Regions from separate parts of the Homo sapiens genome. Here region 2 is linked to region 1. The links are contacts of gene promoters, found by promoter capture Hi-C in human tissues and cell types (Jung and others, 2019). All regions are on one chromosome and are shown on one strand. Each heading gives the region's core, a stretch centred on a gene start or on the middle of the fragment in contact. The rest is flanking DNA. Distances are from core to core; before and after follow the strand shown. Region 1 holds the start of PLA2G12B (phospholipase A2 group XIIB). Region 2 overlaps MICU1 (mitochondrial calcium uptake 1).

What was found. Contacts are between HindIII fragments. The study calls those that stand out against the background at their distance.
Region 2: a fragment that was not itself captured here is called in contact with the fragment with the promoter of PLA2G12B in region 1 in 2 of the 25 tissues and cell types used here (dorsolateral prefrontal cortex and lymphoblastoid cells).

The regions. Positions count from the first base shown.
Region 1 is chr10:72,951,460-72,957,985 of GRCh38, forward strand. It overlaps PLA2G12B (phospholipase A2 group XIIB), which reads right to left and starts at 3,347. Exons shown (of 4, transcript NM_032562.5): 1 at 3,016-3,347. The coding sequence starts at 3,226. The HindIII fragment of the contact is 10,065 bases long and covers 235-6,526 here.
Region 2 is chr10:72,508,588-72,514,649 of GRCh38, forward strand. All of the region lies in intron 5 of MICU1 (mitochondrial calcium uptake 1), which reads right to left. Among named protein-coding and RNA genes, the nearest start is that of MICU1, 110 kb to the right of the region's middle. The HindIII fragment of the contact is 4,645 bases long and covers 1-4,260 here.

The DNA of each region.
Region 1 (6,526 bases), core at 2,097-4,596:
TTTTTTTTTTTTTTTTGAGGTGGAGTCTCGCTCTGTTGCCCAGGCTGCAGTGCAATGGTGAGATCTCAGCTCACTGCAAGCTCTGCCTCCCAGGTTCACACCATTCTCCTGCCTCAGCCTCCCGAGTAGCTGGAACTACTGGCACCCGCCACTACACCCGGCTAATTTTTTTTGTATTTTTAATAGAGACAGGGTTTCACCGTGTTAGCCAGGATGGTCTCGATCTCCTGACATCGTGATCTGCCTGCCTTGGCCTCCCAAAGTGCTGGGATTACAGGCATGAGCCACCGCACCCAGCTGGTAGAGACTCCTTAATAACAGTTGTGCTAGGTATGCCATTGACACACGCTGGATCTTGTCATATTTATAGCCCAGTTGTTTGACAAGTACAGATTTTGTGTGTTGGCATGAGAACAAATTACTTTAGATATGAGAAGCACGGAAAACAATGTTGACATGCTATCATGGGCTACCAGGATACATACACAGTTTTATCTGCCTGCATAATTTAACCTGTGGGCTGAAGTTCTCTAAGAATGACGTCATAGAATGGCACCCCTTTACCTTGGCTGTGCTTTGCAATCACCTGGGAAAAATGTTAAAATACTGATGTCTGGGGCCAACCCACAGAAATTTTGATTTAATTGATTTGGTGCCAGGTGTTGTTAAAGCCCCTCAGGTGATCTGAAGTGTACCCAAGTTAGAAACCCACTGTTTTAAATAGTAGTTAGTACCTATCAAAGGTAAAATCTGGCTGGTGCCGTGGCTCACGCCTATAATCCCAGCAATCTGGGAGGCCAAGTTGGGAGGATTGCTTGAGCCCTGGAGTTGGAGACCAGCCTGGGCAAGATGGTGAGACTCCCTGCTCTACAAAAAGTTACAAAATTATCTGGGCATGGTGGCGCACACCTGTAGCCCAAGCTAACTGGGAGGCTGAGGCAGGAGGATCTCCTAAGCCCAGAATCTCCTACTAATCAGAAACACCTGGGGTGGGGCCCAGAGATCTGGTTGAATCTGCCCTCCAGGGGCTTCAATTCACAGGTGAGTTTGAGAACCACTACTTAAAAGACGAGCACGGTGCATGAGAGATGTGTCACAAAGCAAACTACAAAAGAGCAGACTCGTTGTTAGGTGTTGTCTGTTCAAAAGATTGCTCGATTCACAATCAGTTTGAGAAGGTATTTTGTACTCTTTTGGGCACAGCCGCCAGGTTTTTGGCTCTACTGGGTTCCAAGGTAAGGAGGCATAACCGCCTATTTTTCTAAGTGTTTTTCAGGCCCCTCTTTGAGCAGGTTGTTTTACACAAAGTGAGAAGAGTTATTTGCCTTTCTCTTCTATTTACTCTTCCCATCCCCCACCAGTTGCTGCTGGCTTCCACCCTGCCCAGCCAGAGGCTCCGCAACTAAAATTTGCTTAAGTCTTTTAATGCTGTTTTGCTAGAGAAGGAAGAATAGGATTTGGTTCTTGATTTCCTAATAAAAATTCCTGCTGTTGCCTATTTGCTGAACTACAGATACTAGTCCTGTGTTGCCTTTAGGAAGGAAAACACCTGTGTTGATTCCAATGTCTGAAGTGAGTCAACCCCTTCCCTGTCCCATCCGTGCAAACAGTGTGAGCATAATCCAGTGGCAAGGCCTCTGCGTTGGTCCAACTGCCTTGGACAAATACATGGTTTTAGGGCCAGGTGGGTCCTAACAGACCAGGCATTTTTCTCTGTGAAACTTTCACAAAGAAGCTGCAGCATAGATGGTTAAAACATAGATGGTTAAAACATAGATTTTAACCATAGATTGTTAAAACATCTATGCTGCAAAACTTTGGGTCCTGATGCAATGATTAACCATTACCTCCTAGTCACTCTTAGTGTATAAGGAAGCGATTTTCCCCACTCAAAAAGGAATAGAGAGACTTAAGGGTGAGTCCGGGAAGTATGTAGTTTTTTTGTGCATCTCTTCAAAGCTGACTTTTTCTCTGTTGAGTATTTGGAGAAAATATTTCTCAAATGTGTTTTCCTGTTAGGCTAAATTGACTCACCATTTTCATTTCTAATCCCTTGATGAGATAGTTGATAAATTAAACCATAAAACTAATGCTACCTGAGACCTGAGACTGTGCATGCTTTGGAAAACGTTTTCATGCGCATTGGCAATTACACGATGCCACCCAGCTTCAAGGCCTGGGGCTCCACATTTTGCTCCCCTTACATTAACTTCCAGGGCCCCTGGGACCAGGGGCTCTGTGCCGGCAGCCAGGTGTGCACCTTATATCTGTGTACCCCCAGCCATATTCAGGCAAGGTAGGGGAAGTGCTCCTGCCAGCTCACAAATCTGCATCTGGCGCCAAGTCCAGGGGACAGCCCCGGGATCCCTGGTGAGCCACGAACCCTTCCTCTCCACAGCATGCCTGTCGTTGCCGAGGCTGCAGGCAGGGACAGCTCCCTTGAGAAAGTCCAGCAAATTGATGCCAGTCAGGGACTGAGAGCTGGGAGGACGGTGTGAACTGCAGCAGGGGGAAGGGAGAATTTGTTTCCAAGCTGAGCACAGAGCAGCTGAGGAGGTGGTTTTGCCCCATGGCAGATTTTTCTCTGAATGTTCGGCTTCAGTTTTCATCCCTGGGAACTCCTCACAGAGGCCTCTCATACCCACCCTCCTTCTTCCCACCCCAGGTACCCTTTTTTCCTAAGAACTGCCTCACAACAAACTCATTAAAATGGCCCAGGGAAGGTTTCCCAGATACAATACAGGAAGCTCAGTGAAATGTGAGTTTGAGATAAACAACGAAGAATTTGTCAGGATAAGTATGTCCCAGATATTTCACTGGACATACTTATACTAATGACTTATTTGTTGTTTATTTGGATTTCACATTTCACTGGGTGTCCTACATTTTTATCTGCTAAATCTGGCAGCTCTAAGTGGATAACAGGAAAAAGTGCAAGACAGATCGTGACCTCTCTGGGGCTGTCCATGGGTCCACCAGCAACAGTTTTTACAGAAAGAGAAACCGCACACTCACCATATCGGCACCTGTACTGACAGACTCCATTCTTCCCTCCCAGCAGCTCCAGAAAAGAATCGAAGTAGCTATTGACGGATTCAAAGCTTCCCCGGAGGTGCCGAAGGCCCCAGTCTGAATAGGACTCCTCCGTGTCAGGGCTCGTGTCGCTCTGAGCCAGGCCACCCCCAAGGCTGAGCCACAAAACCAAGAAGCCACTGGCCAGCTTCATCCTGCAGCCAGGTAGGTACTGGCTTCTCTCCTCAAACCCCAGCCAGTGTCCCAGAATTCCAGGGACAAACCCCCTACCCAGATGTCAGGCAGGACTGGGAAAGGGATTATCTGGAACATTCAATCTGTCTGTTCCCCAGAGGTGGACTTTAAACATAGCTATGGAGGTTGGGATGAGATCAGGGCAATTAGAAAGAGGGCAAAGGTTAGGGAGTGGGAGGGCCAGGGAGAGAGAACATTTCAAAGTGGATTCTACCACCCTGGAGGGAGGGAGATGTTAGCCAGCTTCTGAGACGCAGGAACGGTGAAGGATTCGGAGTTCTACCCCGACCAGCTTGTTAAGCTGTTGATCAGTTACAAGTGTGGCTCTTCAGGGCCAGCCTCTTGATAGAAGAGCTTGACCGAAGGTCCTAGCCACACCCCTCAGCCAGCTACCTACATAGTCTCCAAGGAGAGTCAGGAGGATGTGTACAGGGCCCAGGAAAGCCCCAGCGGTAGGAATTAATAGTCACTTTACCAAGGGTCACGATAGTGTCAGAGTAGGTACCAAGTGTGTGTTAAGCAGAAGTTCAGATTTGAGACCCCAGCTTCTGCTGTGGAACCCACCTGGCTCTGACGCATAAATCCTCTAATTTGGCAGAGCTCCCAGATGTAGCCATCTGAGTGCAGGGACATTTTGGCTTCTATTTACAGCAGTATCTCTGTTTACACTCAGCATAAGTGGATCATAAGACAAGATCTACAGATGGTCCAAGGACAATTCTGGGGGCACTCGGCTCTCCTGGTGGTGTTTTTCCTTTGAGTTTCTTAGAAGTCAGAGGGTTTATCAAATAGTCTATTTGGGAGTGTAGGCTTTTAAGACTGTTGACTGAAGTCTAGTGTTTTGGCATCGTTTTCAGTTTAGACTGCTTTTAGTCGTGTGAAGAAATGCCATCTATAAAATCACTAGTCTAGGACCGGGCATGGTGGTGCATGCCTGTAATCCCAGCATTTTGGGAGGCCGAGGCGTTTGGATCACCTGAGGTCAGGAGTTTGAGGCCAGCCTGACCAACATAGCGAAACCCCGTCTCCACTAAAAATACAAAAATTAGCCAGGCAAGGTAGCAGCCGCCTGTAATCCCAGCTACTAGGAAGGCTAAGGCAGGAGAATCACTTGAACCCAGGAGGCGGAGGTTGCAGTGAGCCGAGAGCACGCCATTGCACTCCAGCATGGGCGACAAGAGCGAAACTCTGTCTCAAAAAAATAGTAATAATAAAATAATCACCAGTCTATAAAAATGATACCTTTATGGACCACATGAATCATTTAGCTCCTTTCTCAAATGTTTGTCTGGAAAGCCCCATGGAAAATAATGAATTAAATGAATTAATTTCTTCATTTTCAGTAAATGTGTTTGGCTGAAGACTCAGACTCCAGGAAGGGCAGTGGTTAAAAATTATTCATAGTCACAACAATGCCACCCAATATTTTAAAGCATCTATACTTTTTCAAACCACTTTCATGCATATGCACATACACAGAGGCACACACATACACATGCACATATGCACAAATGTTCATGCCAGTTTCATGAAGCAGATTAAATAGTCCCATTTGGGGGTGAGAAAACTGATGCAGAGGGTAAGTGACTTGATCAAAGCTGGACAGGCTATCAATGGGAAAGCTGGCACCAGGGCCAGCTACATAATTTGTAGGGCTTCACCAAAACAAAACTGCAAATGCAGAGCTCCTTTTCCAAAAGCAGGGGAACTTGCCATTAAAATACTAACTATAGGCTGGGCGCGGTGGCTCACACCTGTAATCCCAGGACTTTGGGGGGCCGAGGCAGGTGGATTGCCTGAGGTCAGGGGTTCAAGACCAGTCTGGCCAATATGGTGAAACCCCGTCTCTACTAAAAATACAAAAAGATTAGCCCGGCGTGGTGGCGTGCACCTATAATCCCAGCTACTCAGGAGGCTGAGGCAGGAGAATTGCTTGAACCAGGGAAGTGGAGGTTGCAGTGAGCCAAGATCGTGCCACTGCACTCCAGCCTGGGTGACAGAGTGAGACTCTGCCTCAAAAAAAAAAAGCTAACTATAAAGCTTTTTCCTTTAAAAAATGTTTTATTATTTGTAAAATATAATAAGGTTAATAGAGATACATGAGTATCAATATATACATAAATTTTTTAAAAATTGGTGTCATAATTTTATATAATACTATATATTACTTTATAAGTATGCAATATTTTGATCATAGGATTTTTCTGACTTTTCTGAAAATTCATTGATTAGGTCATCAAAGTTTATACTTCTAACAACCTAATTTTCAATCAGTGTAACTGAAAGTGATGTCAGTTGCTCTTGGCAATTGTAAGATGGCAAGAAATATTTGATACTTTTTTGTTTTGAGAAGGATCTTTTTGCTGATGCAACTGTTACTAGAGCTGTTAATAGTATTGTCCCCCCATTTCTTGAAACTTTATACATGTTTAAATTGTGGTAAAATATACATAACATATTTACCATTTTAACCATTTTTAAGTGTGCAATGCAGTGGCATTAAGAACATTCATACATTGTTGTGCAACCATCACCACTATCCATCTCCAGAACTTTTTCATCATCCCAAACCGAGACTCTGTTCCCATTAAGTGATAAGTCCCCATTCCCCTTTTCCCCAGCCCCTGGCAGCCACTATTCTACTTTCTGTTCTTAGGAATTTGCCTATTCTAGGTACCCCATATAAATGGAATAATATAATATGTGTCCTTTTGTGTCCAGCTGATTTCACTTAGTATAATTTTAAGTTCATCCATGTGGTATGTATCAATACTTCACTGAGAATACTGCTGCTATGAATACTGGTGTACACATACCCATTCAAGTCCCTGCTTTCGATTCTTTTGGGTATTATATACCTAGAAGTGGGTTTGCTGGATGGTAATTCTATGTTTAACTTTTGAAGAACCATTATACTGCTTTCCATAGTGGCTGTACCATTTTACATTCCTGCCAGCAATGGACAAGATTTCTAATTTCTCCACATCCTTGTCAACACTTGTTGTTTTCCTTTTTTTTTTTTGACAATAGTCATCCTAATGAATGTGAGGTAGTATCTCATGCATCTCCCTCATAATTAGTGATGTTGAGCATCTTTTCATGTGCTTATTGGCTATTTGTATATTTTCTTTGGAGAAACATCTATTTAAGAAGACCTTTGTCCATTTTTCAATTGGGTTTTTTGTTATTGTTGAGTGTCAGAAGTTCTTTATATACTCTGGATATTAATCTCTTATCAGGGCCGGGCATGGTGGCTCAT
Region 2 (6,062 bases), core at 688-3,187, 440 kb before region 1:
CTTCTCCTACAGAGGTATACGTGGTAGTAAACAAATAAACAAACACATGAAAAAACTAAAAGGAAATCAGTTTTGTCCAAGAAAAACTAGACTGATAGTGATTAGAAAGAAAGAAGTGAGCAACTATTTCCAAGGCCTATACAAATGCTCAGAAAACCAATTTTTGAAAAACTAATTTTACTTGATAGCCCCAAGAATCTTAGCTTCAGAATACAGACCAGTATGCAGAGTGAATAGCATCTCTGAAATATAATGCCAAATCAGTCGTACACACTTTCGGCAATTTAATCATATCTACTGTTACTTTAATGGAGGCTCCTAGATGTCAGCTATTTGATGAAACTGTCTCCTACAACTTAGTTTTTACTCTAAATATATATTTCTCTTCTTTAATCTATAAATCTCACAAAGAAAGTTAGTTCTCAGCTTTGGTAATTGTCTGCCTGGCAAGTGGTCTCTTCCTGGGTGTTTAAACAAACTTACTCTGTTTTCTGAATTCTTAGCCAAAGCATAAACTTAGTTGTGACATTGAATATATTTTCAAAAACTGAAAAGGATCCACCAAAAAGTTAGACTTGAAACTAATTTCCACAAGTTCTAGACCACCAAAAATATTTAAGGAATTATTTTGAGTATAAAAAATAGATTTTAAAAACCCAAACCAATAAAGCACAATCAAAGTAATAATGTCATGCAAGCATAAAGTAAGAGGCAGCATTGCAGGCATAACTTCAAGAGGAGTATGATGAAAACTAAACCAACAAGCACCATCACACCAGCATCCAGTTACACAACTATCCAATGGGTTACCTCTGTCTAGTGGAGATCCCATCATAAACCACAAAGGAAAGAAAACTGGTTAACCAACTGAAAATACAAGTACCACACGAATCATCGTGAAGTCAGTTTGTATGATCTTCTCAATAAACTCATTCAAAATAGCCTCTACTAGATATTTACTTGTTCATAAGAAACAGTAGCTATGGACAGGTTAAAGTCCACAGGTGAATAACAATTACACAGTAGTAGGTTTTGATGGCGCTTCTACTTAGAAGAACTTTGCTGACTTCTTTTGCGGCTCACAGAAGGCATAGTCCTGCTTGATAGCATTTAGAGATTACTTCTTTGAGTTGACAACAAAAATGAGTATAGTCCAGTATGTTATTAAGGTTAGATCTCATACTACACTTGATCTTCTACCAAGAGACTGAACAGAAATTTCAGACAAAAAAAGCTACTGGATGAGAACTAGAACAGCAAAGCCCTCCACCAGGAAGTTAATATTTAAATTTCTCAAAATAAAAGAAAAAAATTTGCATTTTTTACGTTACCCAAGATACTGCAAAGGTAAACTATGTGAACAGGAAAAAATACACAAAATGAGAATAGGTCCCCAAAGGCTGACCATTACCAGCCATAACAATAAATGTGTATAGAAGCTAATATTTAATAATAATGATGTAATAAGCTTATGGGGAAATTGCTATAATTAAAATAAATAACATAGTGGAAGCCACAGGTTGAGAAACAGACAAAAGTCTAAGGATAGAGTGAAATGAGGAAGTTAAGCCAAAGAAGCAAACCTAACATTATTTTTCTAACAATCATCCGGGCCATGCTGATGCTGAGAAGGTAACATAAGGGCAAATCTAATTTTGTTGGTAACAAAATTTGAGTTTGACATAACTTCAAACTCACAGAAAAGTTGAAAGATTAGTATAAAGTACTATTATATATTTTTTACCAATTCACCAACAGTTTACATATTACACAATTTGCCTTGTATTTTTTCAACATGCCACTTTGAAAGTAAATTGGAGACATCATGCCACTTTATGCTTAAGTACCTCAGCATAGATTTCCTGGGAACAAAGACATTCTCTAATGGTCACAATCCCAAATGCCATAATCCCAAACGTTGAAATCCCCAAAGATCAAAATTTCTAAAGCCTAAAATCCCCAAAATGTAATTCTGATACATAATTTATAGCACAGTGTATATTTAATAAAACCAGGAAATTTAGTATTGATACACATACTATTATCTAATTCAGTCCTTTTTTATTTTTTTTTTGAGATGGAGTCTCGCTCTGTCACCCAGGCTGGAATGCAGTGGCGTGATCTCAGCTCACTGCAACCTCTGCCTCCCGGGTTCAAGCCTCAGCCTCCCGAGTAGCTGAGATTACAGATGCACACCACCACGCCCATCTAATTTTTGTATTTTTAGTAGAGACGGGTTTTGCCATGTTGGCCAGGCTGGTCTTGAACTCCTGGCCTCAGGTAATCCACCCACCTTGGCCTCCCAAAGTTCTGGGATTACAGATGTAAGCCACTGCGACCAGCCAAATCCAGTCCATTTTCAAATTTTAGCAAATTGTCCCAATAATTTCCTTTATAGCTATTTTCACCCTGATCAAGGATGTAATCCACAATCATAAACTGCATTTAGTTGTCATGTCTCTTTAGTCTCCATTAATAGGGAACAGCCTTTCTTTGTCCTTATTTTTTCCTGTAGAGGTTTATTGGTTTTGATTGTGATAAATTCACCATTTTTACCATTTAACCACACAGTACGTAGGCCTTTTAGGTTTGGCTTCTTTCACTGAACATAATGTTTTTTAGGTTCACCATGTTGTAGCATGAATCAATATTTAATTCCTTTTTATTGCCAAATGATATTCCACTGTATGGGATGCTGATCATAATCCCCCCAAAATACACACTGAACACCATAATCCCGAATGTTGAAATCCCCAAAGATCAAAATCCCTAAAGTCTAAAATCCTAATTTTGGAAAACATAAAAATTCTTTAAAAATATTTGCTTACATTTTTAAAGAAGATTTGAGAAACATAAGAATGAGACAGAACACTTTGAGCAGAAGAACCACTGTTCATAAAGAAATGGCTCAAAGGGGAAATGTATAAACGCCTATCACTATAGTTAGTAATCGTATGTGCCCCAGTTATAAAGGCAGTCATCTGAAATACCCTGAGAACAAACCTAAGTCTTTTCATGAGATAAGTTAAAAACCACAATGGGTCATTATTGCATACACAGTTGCCCAAAGAGCTGAGATCTTGAGAAATTTTATCTTTCACAAATGCAGTACAAAAAAGGTCATTTCTTCATTTATTGAGGAAGTTTCAACGTTTTAACATAAACGCACAATGCTTACACACAATAAATGCTGTGATAATACACTTTTCTGAAGTCGAATTTCTGATATCCAAAGCAGCAGCAGAAAAGTCTGCCCCAGCTCTCAGAGAGAACCATTTGCTGTCTCCAGATCCCTAGCTGATTGGGTGGTGCCCATCAACATTGAGGGCAGACCGTCCCCATCTAAATCCACTCAGATTCACACACTAGTCTCCTCACCCTAACACCCAAAATAATGCTTTACCAGGTTTCTAGGTATTCCTTAATCTAGTCAAGTTGACATTTAAAATTACTGATACCTAAAATGAAGTCCACAAGTTCATCCCTTATCAATCTGGCATCCATACACAGTTGTTTTTTGTTTTTTTTTTTTTTTTTTTTTTTGAGACGGAGTCTCGTTTTGTCGCCAGGCTGGAGTACAGTGGCACAATCTCTGCTTACTGCAATCTCTGCCTCCCAGGTTCAAGCAATTCCCCTGCCTCAGCCTCCCAAGTAGCGGGATTACAGGTGCCCGCCACCACGTCTGGCTAATTTTTTGTATTTTAGTAGAGATGGGTTTCACCATATTGGCCAGATGGTCTCGATCTCCTAATCTCATGATCTGCCCACCTTGGCCTCTCAAAGTGCTGGGATTACAGGCGTGAGCCACCATGCCTGGCCCCCATACACAGCTCCTTAAGCCATACTTAACTCCCAAATAAAGATAACAAGGTAAGGAATTTTGATTTTTTGGGATTGTATCTTTCCAGATTATGATCCAAACCCCACTGTATGTATATGCCACAGTTTATCTATTCATATGCTCAAAGACATTTAGGTTATTTCCACCTTTTGGTTATTCATGTATGAGTATCTGTTTGAGTACCTGTTGTCAATTCTTTTGGTATGTACTAAGGAGAGGAACTGCTGGGTCATATGGCAGCTCTATGTTTTTGGTTTTTGTTTTGTTTTGTTTTGTTTTGTTTTGTTTTGAGACAGTGTCTCACTCTGACACCCAGGCTGGAGTGCAGTGATATGATCTTGGATCACCGCAGCCTTGACCTCTGGGGCTCAGCTCAGGTGATCCTCCCATCTCAGCCTCCCCAGTAGCTGGGACTACAGGTACATGTCACCATGCTCGGGTAATTTTTGTATTTTTTGTAGAGATGGGGTTTTGCCATGTTGCCCAGGTTGGTCTTGAACTCCTGGAGTTAAGCAATCTGCGTGCCTCAGCCTCCAGAGTGCTGGGGTTACAGGCATGAGCCACCACACTCAGCTGGTTGTTTTTTGTTTAAGACAGGAGGAGGTTGCTCTGTCGCACAGGATGAAATGCAGTGGCACAATCATGGATCTGGGCTGCATCCTTGATCTCCTGGGCTTTAAGCAATCCTTCCACCTCAGCCTCCCAAAGTACTGCGATTACAGCACCATTTACATTCCCATAAGCAATGTAAGAGGATTCCACATTCTCCACACCCTCACCAATACTTCTTCCTCTTCTTCTTTAAAAAATTATAACCATCCTCATGGATATGACATGGTATCTCACTGTGATTTTGATTTACATTCCCCTAATACCTAATGATGCTCAGCATCTTTTCATGTGCTTTTTGACCATCTGTATATCTTCTTTGGAGAAATGTCTATCCAAATCCTTTGCTCATTTTTGAATTTGTTATTTCTCATTTGGCTGTTGAGTTCTAATCGAAGTTCTTTATATATTCTGGATATTAGATCCTTATCATAGACATATCTGCAAATATTTTCTCCTATTCTGTGTGTTGCCCCTTCACTCTTGATAATGTCCTATGAAGCAGAAAAGTTTTAAATATTGAAGTCCCATTTATCTATTTTATTATTTGTGCTTTTGATGTTATATTTAATATTTCATTACCAATCCAAGGTCATGAAGATTTACCCCTACTTTTCTACTAAGGGTTTTACAGCATTTGCTCTTTTTTTTTAGGTTATTGATCCATTTTGAGTTAAATTTTGTATATAATGTGAAGTAGGGGGTTCACCTTCATTCTTTTGTACGTGAATATCTAGTGGACCTTATACCATTTGTTGAAATGGTATGACCTTTTACCACTGTCTTACATGCTTGTTGAAATTCAATTAACCATAGATGTGTGGGTTTATTTCTGAACTCTCAATTTTCTTCCATTGTCTGTGTTTATGCCAGTACCACATCATTTACATTTTTGTAATTTAAAAAAATTGCAGTAAAATGCATATAACAAAATTTACCACTATAAACATTTTAAAGTATAAGTCTCTTCAGCTCTGTGCATTTTTTTTTTCATTCTTTTTCCTCTCTGCCTCAGACTAGATAATATCAATTGACCTATATCTTCAAGTTCACTAATTCTTTCTTCTGCCTGCTCAAGTTTGCTGGTTGAATCCCTCTAGTCAATTTTTCAACTCAGCTCTTGTACTTTTCAGTTCCAGAACTTCTATTTGGTATCTTTTAAACAATTTCTATGTATCTATTGAAATTTTCTGTTAGTTCATACATCATCCTTTTAGCTACTTAACTATACTTTAGGCAGTTGATCTAAAGTCTTTGAGTAGTACATATAATGTCCGTGCCTCCTCAAGGATACTCCCTATTTCTTTTTTTTTTCTTTCTGTGATTGGGCTGTAATTTATTGTTTCTATGTATGCATAATTTCTTGTTGAAACTGGACATTTTGTATATTATAATGTGGTAACTCTCGAAATCGCATTCTTCCCCTTCCTCAGGGTTTGTTGTTGCTACTTACTGTGGGTTGTAGTTGTTTGTTTAATGACTTTATTAAACTCTTCTTGTAAAGACCTGTGACCTTTGTCATAGGTCGTCACTCAAGTCTCTGTTCACCTTAGTGAGCAACTAGTGATTTGACAGGTTTCCTTAAATGCCTGGAGCGAAAGGGGTAAAAATA